Linked DNA regions of Homo sapiens: regions 2 and 3 are each linked to region 1. Evidence: promoter capture Hi-C in human tissues and cell types (Jung and others, 2019). All regions are on one chromosome and are shown on one strand. The core of a region is centred on a gene start or on the middle of the fragment in contact, and the rest is flanking DNA. Distances in the headings are between cores, read along the strand shown. Region 1 holds the start of MAP1B (microtubule associated protein 1B). Region 2 has its middle 100 kb from the start of CARTPT. Region 3 has its middle 34 kb from the start of CARTPT.

Region 1 (4,112 bases), core at 123-2,622:
TATCTATCTATCTATCTATCTATCATCTATATTTTACTAACAGGCATTCTAGTATTAAAGCTATGTTGACTAATTTCCATCTATTCCTCTTCCTTAAAGCTCGAATTCCCCAGTCTTCTATGATACCATGTTTGCACATTTTGCTCTTTCCTCACCCTCCTCCCCTTTTCTGGGACAGAAGCTATATTCAGTATGTTTGTGAGAAACGGTTGTAAATAGGCTGCCTTAAAAAAAAAAACAAAAAAACAAAAACAAAAAACACATTTTTTAGTTCTTCTAAACACAAACAAAGGCAATAAAAATTCCCAATGCTACAGGTATTTTAAAAGACATCATTGTCACGAGGTAATTTTGCTTGTGTGTTCCCCAAGGAACTGAAAAGTACATTATAGTCACTGTAACCCTGCTGAGTAGAGACAGTATCTTCTCTTTATTCTTTGTTATTACTGATACTATCTGTTCAGCACATTAAGGAAAGAAATTGGTATCTAATATAATACATCTGCATTTCTCTCATTTCCCATGAGCACCACAAAGCCAGTACTTTTTCATCCTTGGCCCTGCCAGAGTAGAATCCAAGGCCTGAACAATAGTAGGCTTAAGTTTTGCATTTTTGATGTATTCTTTAAGTGAAGGTGGTAAATATTGATATTGGTAAATATCAGTAAATTCGTCTTCTTAAAGCCACAAGGTCAAAGAAAAGACAGGTTCCGTCTTCCTAGGCGGGGTACCCACAGCCCCGCATCTGCCCACTGTGGCTATCCCAGTTCCTGAGAACCTGGCTACATCATACACAGCACACAAGGCAGAGGCCTGACTAGTGCAACTCCAACAAGAGAAAAGACCCCCACTCCGAAAATGGAAACTCATCCCATTCCCATGCACAGACAGGGTGAGGGTGAGGAGTGGGCAGTGGGTGTGTACGTGGTGGGTGGTGTAGGTTGAGAGCGTCTTCCCCCTTCACGGCTGCAGCAGGAGCTCAGCGGGCGCCCCAGCCCCTTGGCTCGCGGCCCTGCCCCGACCATTGTCCGCACACCTCGTCCCTCCAGCTTCCGGGCCGCGGGCGAGATGATTTGCTGCAGATGACATCAGCCCCGGGCCAACGGCTGGAAGAGCGGAGGCAGCCACCGCGTGAGGATGTGCCGGGTGGTCCTTTCCTCCTCCTCTTCCTCCTCCTCCCGGCTCCCTGCCTAGTCTCCATATAAAAGCGGCGCCGCCTCCCCGCCCTCTCTCACTCCCCGCTCCTCTCCGCCGCGCACTCTCCGCGGCGCTGGGAGAGGGCGGAGGGGGAGGCGGCGCGCGGCGCCAGAGGAGGGGGGACGCAGGGGGCGGAGCGGAGACAGTACCTTCGGAGATAATCCTTTCTCCTGCCGCAGTGGAGAGGAGCGGCCGGAGCGAGACACTTCGCCGAGGCACAGCAGCCGGCAGGATGGCGACCGTGGTGGTGGAAGCCACCGAGCCGGAGCCGTCCGGCAGCATCGCCAACCCGGCGGCGTCCACCTCGCCTAGCCTGTCGCACCGCTTCCTTGACAGCAAGTTCTACTTGCTGGTGGTCGTCGGCGAGATCGTGACCGAGGAGCACCTGCGGCGTGCCATCGGCAACATCGAGCTCGGTAAGTGGCCCCGCGCCCCCAGAGACGCGCGCTGGGAGACGCGCAAACACGACCCCACCCAGGGCGCGACGGTCACTGCGCTCCTCCCGCGCGCCCCGCACCCATGCCTCTCCTCGTCACCTCTCATACTTGGTCCAGACCCTTTCTGGGCTAATTAAGAATAATCCGAATTATTAGATATGAGACCCAGAGGGAGAGTCTCCAATAACCTTGAGGGATCTGTCACCACGCTGAGTCCGCAGCCTGTGCTGAGTTGGCCACCGCCTCTCCCGCTAAGTGAAATGCAGGTGTCAGGGGAGCAGAGGCCACAATAAAGCCGCAACCGCAGGAGGCAGAAGGGTGGGGGAGACCTGATGCAACCACTCCTTTCAGTCCTCTTCTGGCCTCAGGAAAAGGCTGGGACCCCCACCACCGCAGACCTGGGGCCGAAGCCCATGTGCCAGGGCCCGCGTGGGATTCATCCTCACCACGGCTACCTCAGCCCCTGAGAAACGCCTTTTCTGATTTCAAACCTCCCGATCCTTTCTTTCCTCAGAATGACTAGGCTAGTCCTAGGGCCACGCCCGCTCCCCCCGCCCCCCCCTCCCCGGGGAGATGCTGGGATGCAGAACCGCCTGCGCTTCGCCACCAGACAGAGCCCGCCTCGCTACCGCCCTTGGGGCCTTGGCTGCAGCTCTCAGAAAGGACAATGGGACCCCAAGTTGCGGGGTGGGGCTGCTGCTTTTAGAAGTCCCAGCCTCGGGAGTGGTAGCTTGAAGGGGGTCGGTGAGGGAGACGTCAGCGGGTAGGGTCAGCTCCTCGCCCGGTGCTCGCACCAGTGGCGCGCTCTGCGGAGGCCGAATAGCGGTACGCCGGGGACCCTGGGCGGGGCCGTGAGGGTCCGGCGGGCACAGCCTCGGGCGCACAGAGAGACCGCCCCCAGCCCCACCCGAGCTGCCGCAGTGCCTCCGGACCGCCCGCCACACCTGCCCCCCCACACTGCGGCGCCCCCGTCGGGCACGGCTGGCTGGGCTTGCGCTCCGCCCGGGCCTCGGGCTGGCGGGGGCCGCGCGCCCCCACCTCTCAGTTTGCCTGGCTTTGTTGCCCTGGGAGTCCCTGGGTGGGCAGCTCTGGTCTCTGCCTTTCCCTTTATCCCTGGCGTCCCGGCCCTCCCCTCGCTCCTGACAGAGGTCGCCGGGTCCCTCCGCAGCCCCAGCCCGCGCTCTATTCTCCTGGGGTGGTGCTGAAGCGTTTCTCCGGGAGACACCGGTTGGTGGGCGTGGTGCAGTCCGCACTGCGGTCTCTACGGCAGCCCGAGGCGGACAAAGGGCGTTCACGCAGCCCTCGTTCCCCACTCCCCCTCCCCAATAAAAGACGAAAGAAAAACCTTGTTTTAGATGAAAAAATAAATGCTTGTCATCTGCCTCTGCAGTTGGAAACGGCCACTTGTCCCCAGAACAAAAGGCTGCAGGGTGGGGACTGGAGTTGCAGACCTGGTTCTTTTGTTTAACTTTAAAGCACTTGATTTTCCCTTTTAGCTTAAAAAAAAAAAAGAAAAAAAATGTGAGCAGAAAGTCATAGTATTTTATTCCAAAAAATTCAAGAACAAGAGATATTTCAGTAGTGAAATGTCTTATTTGAGCATCTCAATAACCCTTCATTTTCAGACTATATAGGCCTTTGGTCTAATCTGTTCTAATTTAGTTTATTTGCACAATTTTCTCCTGGAAAAATTTTACACATACTGACTTTGGGTGTGGCTATTGTGGGAATCAATGACTTTGGATTTTTTTCTTTAAAAAATTATTTGTAAGTAGCATTTCTGGGAAATAGGAATATATTAGGAGGTGCTTTTCTATCTACAAAATCTTCATAACCATTCGATGTGGTGGTGCTAGGAGAGGGATCATCAACCCCGTTTTAGAGCTGGGGGCCCAGAGAGGCAGGAAGGGTAAGAGAACCGGCTCAAGGTCACAGCACTCATAAGTGACAGAAGTACCAGTACTGCAGCGTCACTCGTTTTCTGACCCTGTCATGATGTTAGTGCAGGGTTGGCTAACATCCTATGATGGGAGGAAGGTTTCAGTACAACAGTTTTCAGGGCTTGCCTTTGTATGGCCATCCACTTGTGGGCAGCGCCCCATGCTGGGAGATGGTTCAGCAATCACCTTCGGATCGTAATTATCTTCCTGCTTTGTTACTCATCTGATCATCCTTTCAGCGCCCTATTCCTCAGAGGGTTTATACAAGCTGCATCTATTTATGGAGAAAACAGACGCATCCACGTACTGCTATGAAGAAGGGCTCCCTGCCTTTACTCGTTTTTACACTACTAGCACTTAGTGACAAAATTCAGATTTGTCTTCTTGACATTAATTTTTTAAAAAATTCGGTTGAAGTATTATATAGAGAGGAAAGGGCACAAATCAAAGATGAGCAGCTCAACGAATTTTCACAAAACGGACACGCCTGGGTTACCCAGATCAAGAAACAGACATTACTGGAACCCCAGAAGCCCCC
Region 2 (3,631 bases), core at 297-2,796, 290 kb before region 1:
TGATGGATAGACAAAAAGAAAAAAGTGGGAAAACCTTCAAAGTCTATAAATAGACCTTATGCATATATTTAAAAGTTAGTATGTAACAAAGTTTCCATTTCAAATTAGAGAGGAAAAGGTAGACAGTCCCATGAATGACTTTTCAGTGACTGACTAATCACCTGGGAAACAATTAAGTTAGCTTTCCTATCCTATGACTTACTCCAAAATGAATTCTTAACTGTTTAAGAATTAAGCATATATAAATATGAAACCATAAGAAAAGGTAAAATTATATAAATATTATATAATCTTGAGGTGAGGAAGAGAAAAGACTATGTAAGGAAGAAAACAAAGAAGAAGAACAGTAGATTTAAATACATAAAGATTAGAAATATTTGGTGTTGTAAAACGTTGCAAACAAAATGGAAATTGGGAAACATTTATAAAATAAATGATAGACAAAACACTGATATTTGTGTAGAAGATTTTTTATTTTTTAATTGACATGTAATAACGGTTCATATTTATTGAGTACCTAGTGCTGTTTCAATACATATAATGTATACTGATCAGATTAGGGTAATTAGCATATCCACGATCACAAACATTTGTCATTTCTTTGTGTTGGGAACATTCTTCCTTCCAGCTATTTGAAAGTATATAATATATTATGGTTAACTACAGTCATTTTGCGGAGTTATTGAACTTTAGAACTTATTCAGCTATCTAGATGTAAATTTTGTATCCTTTAAAAAAAAAAATCACCCTATCCCTTTCCCTTTCCCCTTCCCCTTCCCAGCCTCTGGTATCCTCTGGTCTACTTTTACTTCTATGAAATCAACGTTTTCAGCTTCCACATGTGAGTGAGGACATGCGATGTTTCTTGCCTTTCCTGGCTTATTTCACTTAATGTCTTCCAGCTCTATCCATGTTGCTGTAAATGACAGGATTTCACTCTCTTTTTTTTTGTGGCTGAATAGTATTCCATGTGTATATACACCACATTTTCTGTATCGTCAGTTGTTGGACACCTAGGTTGATTCCATATCTTGGCTACTGTGAATAGTGCTGCAGTAAACACAGAAGTCTCTTCGATATTCTGATTTCCCTTCCTTTGGCTAAATGCCCAATAGTGGGATTGTTAGATTATATGGTAGTTCTATTTGTAGTTTTTTTTAAAGGGACCTCTATACTGTCCTCCCTGTGGCTGTACTAATTTACATTCCCACTAACAATGTGTAAGAGTTCTCTTTTCCTTGTTTCTTCACCAGCACTTGTTATTTTTTCTCTTTTTGATTATAGCCATCTTAACTGGGGTGAGATCATACCTCTTTGCAGTTTTCACTTGCATTTCCCTGATGATTAGTGATGTTGAGCACTTTTATATATATTTGTTGGCCATTTGTATGTCTTCTTTTGAGAAATGTCTACTCAGATCATTTGCCCATTTTAAAATCAGATTTTTGTTGTTGTTGTTGAGTTGTTTGAGCTCCTTGTATATTGTGGATATTAATCATCTGTTGGATGCACAGTTTGCACATAATTTCTCCCATTCTTTAGGTTGTTTTTTCACTCTGTCGATTGTTCCTGTCATTGTGCAGAAGCTTTTTAGTTTGATATAATCCCATTTGTTTATTTTTGCTTTTATTGCCATGCTTTTGAGGTCTTATTCATAAAATCTTTGCCCAAACCAATGTCCTGAAGTGTTTTCCCTGTTTTCTTCTAGTAGTTTTATATTTTTGGGACTTACATTTATGTCTTTGATTCATTTTTTAAAACATTTTAATTTTTGTGGGTACATAGTGGGAATATATATTTAGGGGCATATGTGATGTTTTGATACAGGCATGCAACGTGAAATAAGCACATCATGGAGAATGGGGTATTCATCCCCTTAAGCATTTATCCTTTGAGTTACAAACAATACAATTACATGCTTTGAGTTATTTAAAAATGTGCAAGTAAGTTATTATTGATTTTAGTCACTCTGTTGTGCTATCAAATAGTAGGTCTCATTCTTTCTAACTAATTTTTGGCACCCATTAAACATCTGCAAGTATCCCCCAGCCTCCCACTACCCTTCTCAGCCTCTGGTAACCATCCTTCTACTCTCTATCTCCATGAGTTCAATTGTTTTAATTTTTAAATCCCACAAATAAGTGAGAACATGTGATGTTTGTCTTTCTGTTCCTGGCTTATTTCACTTAACATAATGATCTCCATCCATGTTGTTGCAAATGACTGGATCTCATCCTTTTTCTGGCTGAATAGTACTCCATTGTGTATATGTACCACATTGTCTTTATCCATTCATCTGTTGATGGACAGTTAGGTTGCTTCCAAATCTTAGCTATTGTAAACAATGCTGCAACAAATGTAGGAGTGCAGATATCTCTTTGATGTACTGATTTTCTTTCTTTTGGGCATTACCCAACTGTGGTATTGCTGGATCATATGGTAGATCAATTTTTAGTTTTTTGAGGAACCTCCAAATTGTTCTCCATAGTGTTTGTACTAATTTACATTCACATCTACAGTGTACAAGGGTTCCCTTTTCTTCACATCCTCACCAGCATTTGTTATTGCCTGTCTATTGGATAAAAGCCATTTTAACTGGGGTGAGATGATATCTCATTATAGTTTTGATTTGCATTTCTCTGATGATCAATGATGTTGAACACCTTTTTAAATACCTGTTTACAATTTATATGTCTTCTTTTGAGAAATTTCTATTCAGATCTTTTGCCCATTTTTAATTGGATTATTAGATTTTTTCCATAGAGTTGTTTGAGCTCCTTATATATTCTGGATATTAATCCCTTGTCAGATGGGTAGTTTGCAAATATTTTCTCCCATTCTGTGGGTTGTCTGTTTACTTTGCTGATTGTATCCTTTGCTTTGCAGAAGCTTTTTAACTTGATGTGATCCCATTTGTCCATGTTTGCTTTGGTTACCTGTGCTTGTAGGGTAGTGCTCAATAAATTTTTGCCCAGATTAATGTCCTGGAGATTTTCCCCCATGTTTTCTCGTAGTAGTTTCAAAATTTGAGGTCTTAGACTTAAGTCTTCAATCCATTTTGATTTTATTTTTGAATAAGGCAATAGATAGGGGTCCAGTTTCCATTATTTTGCATATGAATATCTAATTTTACCAGCACTATTTATTGAAGAGACTGTCTTTTCTCCTGTGTATGTTCTTGGCAGCTTTGTCAAAAATGAATTCACTGTAGGTGTGTGGATTTATTTTTGAGTTCTCTATTCTATTCCATTGGTCTATGTGTCTGCTTTTATGCCAGTACTATGCTGTCTTGGTAACTATACCTCTGTAGTATAATTTGAAGTCAGGTAAATATGATTCTTCCAGTTTTATTCCTTTTGCTTAGGATAGCTTTGGGTATTCTGGGTCTTTTGTGGTTCCATATAAATTTTAGGATTTTTTTTCTATTTCCGTGAAGAGTGTCATTGGTATGATAGGGGCATTGAATCTGCAGATTGCTTTGGGTAGTATGGAGATTTTAACAATATTGATTCTTCCCATCCATGAACATGGAATATTTTTCCATTTTTTGGTGTCCTCTTCAATTTATTTCATCAGTGTTTTATAGTTTTCACTATAGAAATCTTTCACTTCTTTTGTTAAGTTAATTCCT
Region 3 (3,878 bases), core at 618-3,117, 420 kb before region 1:
GGAAAGAAAGAAAAAGCTTGACACTATATACATGGGCATGTAAGCAGTGGCATATCAATGAAGTATCAATGAAGTACTTCTTTTTGCTTATTGGAATTTTCTGAAATTTCTGAAATGAATCTGTATCATTATTGTAATAAGAAGGCATAATTTGTTTGTTACAGGCTATTTGGTTTTTTTCTTCCAATCCTTTCACAGTATTAAAATGCATAGCTTAACAAAATTTGCTTAACAGTAAATGTTGAGGATCGCTTGAACCCAGGAGTTGCAGGCTGCAGTGAGCCAAGATTGCACTCCAGCCTGGGGAACAGAGTGAGACTCTGTGTCAAAAAAAAAAAATTTTTTTTTAGTATGGATTACATCATGGAGGACGGGAGGCAGGACTAGATTGCAGCTCGAACTTGGAGGGACAGAGCAGCATGTGGAGGCTTGCATTGTGAATTTTAGCTCCAGAACAACTGCAGGAATAAATCAGGAAACCTGAGAGGACCCACAGACCCACTGAAGGAAGCAGATTGCTCCTACAGGACCTGGGAGACACCCCAAATACAGTGAGTGCCCAAGCTGTGTAAGTGGGAAAGGGAGATCATCTGCCCCCAAACACACACCCTCACTGGGGAAACTGAAGGTCTAGTTTATGGGAGAAGATTTCGACCTCACAAAGAGCTGAGGAAATTTAGAGAGCTGAGCAAAATACAGGGATGGAGGAAGCAGTGGGAAAGGCCCTGTGAGCTCACTAGTCCTCAAGCAGGCCATTCCTGCCTGGCATCACAGGGATCCCTTGGGAGGGTGGTCAGAGGCATAGGGGAAATGCCACAAGGAGAAGGAAGTCTCCAGCTGAACTTTGTAACAATTTGAACTGGTCAAGAAGCCTCCTGGCCAGATCTCAGGGGAGGGCATGAATCCGGAGTGCAGACTCCACAGGCGGGGGAAGAACTGAAACCTACTTTCTTTCCCAGCTGGGAGGTGGGTAGCCTGGGGCAAGTTCTCAGCCCTGCTTGCCCACTGCCTGGAAATAAGCTCAGTGCTGTTAGAGAGGGCATGGTGGGAGTGAGACCAGCCCTTTGGATGGCATGGGAGCTGGGTGAGGCCTGTGACTGCCGGCTTTCTCCCACTTCCCTGACAACCTGCGTGACTCAGCAGAGGCATCCATAATCCTCCTAGGTATATAACTACATTGACCTGGGAACCTCACCCCAATCCCCCACAATAGTCACAGCAAGACCTGCCCAAGGAGAGTCTGAGCTCAGATATGCCTAGCCCTGCCTACACCTGGTGGCCCTTCACTATCCACCCTGGTGTCTGAACACAAAGGTCATGTACTCTTGGGAGTTCTAGGGCCCCACCCACCACCGGTTCCTCCCCATACTACCACAGCTGATGCTCTCTGCAAAGCACCACCTCTCCTCAGGAGGCCAACCAGCACAAAAATAGAACATTAAACCACCAAAGCTAAGAACTCTCACAGAGTCCATTTCACCCCACTGCCACCTTCACTGTAACAGGTGCTGGTATCCACAGCTGAGAGACCCATAGTAGGTTCACATCACAGGACTCTGTGCACACAACCCCCAGTACCAGCCTGGAGCCTGGTAGACTTGCTGGGTGGCTAGATCCAGAAGAAAGATAACAATCACTACAACTTGGCTCTCAGGAAGCCACATGGATAGGAAAAGGGAGAGAGTACCACATCACGTGAACATCCATGGGACAAAAGAATCTGAATTACAGGCTTCATCCCTAGACCTTCCCTCTGACAGAGCCTACCCAAATGAGAAGGAACCAGAAAACCAACTCTGGTAATATGACAAAACAAGGCTCTTTAATACTCCCCCAAAATCACACTAGCTCACCAGCAATGGATCCAAACCAAGAAGAAATTCCTGATTTCCCTGAAAAAGAATTCAGGGGTTAGTTATTAAGCTAATCATGGAGGCACCAGAGAAAGACGAAGCCCAATGCAAGGAAATCCAAAAAATGATATAAGAAGTGAAGGGAGAAATATTCAGGGAAATAGACAGCATAAAGAAAAAACAACAAAAACTTCAGGAAACATTGGAGACACTTATAGCAATGCAAAATACTCTGGAAAGTCTCAGCAATAGAATTGAACAATTAGAAGAAAGAAATCCAGAGCTTGAAGACAAGGTCTTCGAATTAACCCAATCCAACAAAGACAAAAAAGAAAGAATAAGAAAATATGAATACAGCCTTCAAGAAGTCTGGGATGTTAAATGACCAAACCTAAGAATAATTGGTGTTCCTGAGGAAGAAGAGAAATCTAAAAGTTTGGAAAACATATTTAGGGGAATAATTGAGGAAAACTTCCCCAGCCTTGCTAGAGACCTAGACATCCAAATACAAGAAGCACAAAGAACACACGGGAAATTCACTGCAAAAAGATCATTGCCTAGGCACATTGTCATCAGGTTATCCAAAGTTAAGATGAAGGAAAGAATCTTAAGAGCTGTGAGAAAAAAGCACAAGGTAACCTATAAAGGAAAACCTATCAGATTAACAGCAGATTTCTTAGCAGAAATCCTACAAGCTAGAAGGGATTGGGGCCCTATCTTCAGGCTCCTCAAGCAAAACAATTACCAGCAAAAAATTTTGTATCCAGCAAAACTAAGCATCTTATACGAGGGAAAGATACAGTCTTTTTCAGACAAATGCTGAGAGAATTCGCTACTACCAAGCCACCACTACAAGAACTGCTAAAAGAGCTCTAAATCTTGAAAGAAATCCTGGAAACACATCAAAACAGAACCTATTTAAAGCATAAATCTCACAGGACCTATAAAACAAAACTATGATTTGAAAAACAAAAACAAAAAACCAAGATACACAGGCAACAAATAACATGATGAATGGAATGGTGTCTCACATTTCAACACTAACTTTGAATGCGAATGGCCTAAATGCTCCACTTAAAAGATGCAGAACTGCAGAATGGATAAGAATTCACCAACCAACTATCTGCTGCTTTCAAGAGACTCACCTAACACATAAGGACTCACATAAACTTGAGGTGAAGGGGTGGAAAAAGGCATTTCATGCAATGGACACTGAAAGCGAGCAGGAGTAGCTATTCTTATATCAGACAAAACAAACTTTAAAGCAACAGCATTTAAAAAAGTCAAAGAGGGTCACTATATAATATTTCCAACAGCAAAATATCACAATCCTAAACATATATGCACCTAACACTGGAGCTCCCAAATTTATAAAACAATTACTAATAGACCTAAGAAATGAGATAGACAGCAACACGATAATAGTGGGGGACTTCAATACTCCACTGATAGCACTAGACAGGCCATCAAGACAGAAAGTCAACAAAGAAACAATGAATTTAAACTATACCTTTGAGCAAATGGACTTAACAGATATATACAGAACATTCCATCCAACAACCACAGAGTACACATTCTATTCAACAGTGCATGGAACTTTCTCCAAAATAGACCATATGATAGGCCATAAAATGAGCCTCAATAAATTTAAGAAATTGAAATGATATCAAGCACTCTCTCAGACTATAATGGAATAAAACTGGAAATCAACTCCAAAAGGAACCTTCAAAACCATGCAAATACATGGAAATTAAATAACTTGCTCTTGAATGATCACTGGGTCAAAACCGAAATCAAGATGGAAATTAAAAAATTGTTTGAACTGAATGACAATAGTGACACAGCCTATCCAAACCTCTGGGATACAGCAAAGGCGGTTCTAAGAGGAAAGTTCATAACCTTAAATGCCTACATCAAAAAGACTGAAGGAACACAAAGTGACAATTGGAGGTTATATCTCAAGGAACAAGAGAATCAAGAACAAACCAAACCCAAACCCAGCAGAAGAAAGGAAATAACCAAGAT

What was found. Contacts are between HindIII fragments. The study calls those that stand out against the background at their distance.
Region 2: a contact is called between a fragment that was not itself captured here and the fragment with the promoter of MAP1B in region 1, in 1 of the 25 tissues and cell types used here (dorsolateral prefrontal cortex).
Region 3: a fragment that was not itself captured here is called in contact with the fragment with the promoter of MAP1B in region 1 in 1 of the 25 tissues and cell types used here (lymphoblastoid cells).

The regions. Positions count from the first base shown.
Region 1 is chr5:72,106,103-72,110,214 of GRCh38, forward strand. It overlaps MAP1B (microtubule associated protein 1B), which reads left to right and starts at 1,373. Exons shown (of 7, transcript NM_005909.5): 1 at 1,373-1,613. The coding sequence starts at 1,430. It overlaps LOC105379028 (a long non-coding RNA gene), which reads right to left. Exons shown (of 3, transcript XR_007058813.1): 1 at 2,673-4,112; 2 at 1,823-1,885. RefSeq lists enhancers at 1,292-2,274, 2,680-2,974. The HindIII fragment of the contact is 7,344 bases long and covers 1-4,112 here.
Region 2 is chr5:71,820,010-71,823,640 of GRCh38, forward strand. No RefSeq gene overlaps it. Among named protein-coding and RNA genes, the nearest start is that of CARTPT, 100 kb to the left of the region's middle. The HindIII fragment of the contact is 3,769 bases long and covers 1-3,431 here.
Region 3 is chr5:71,683,198-71,687,075 of GRCh38, forward strand. No RefSeq gene overlaps it. Among named protein-coding and RNA genes, the nearest start is that of CARTPT, 34 kb to the right of the region's middle. The HindIII fragment of the contact is 4,509 bases long and covers 1-3,878 here.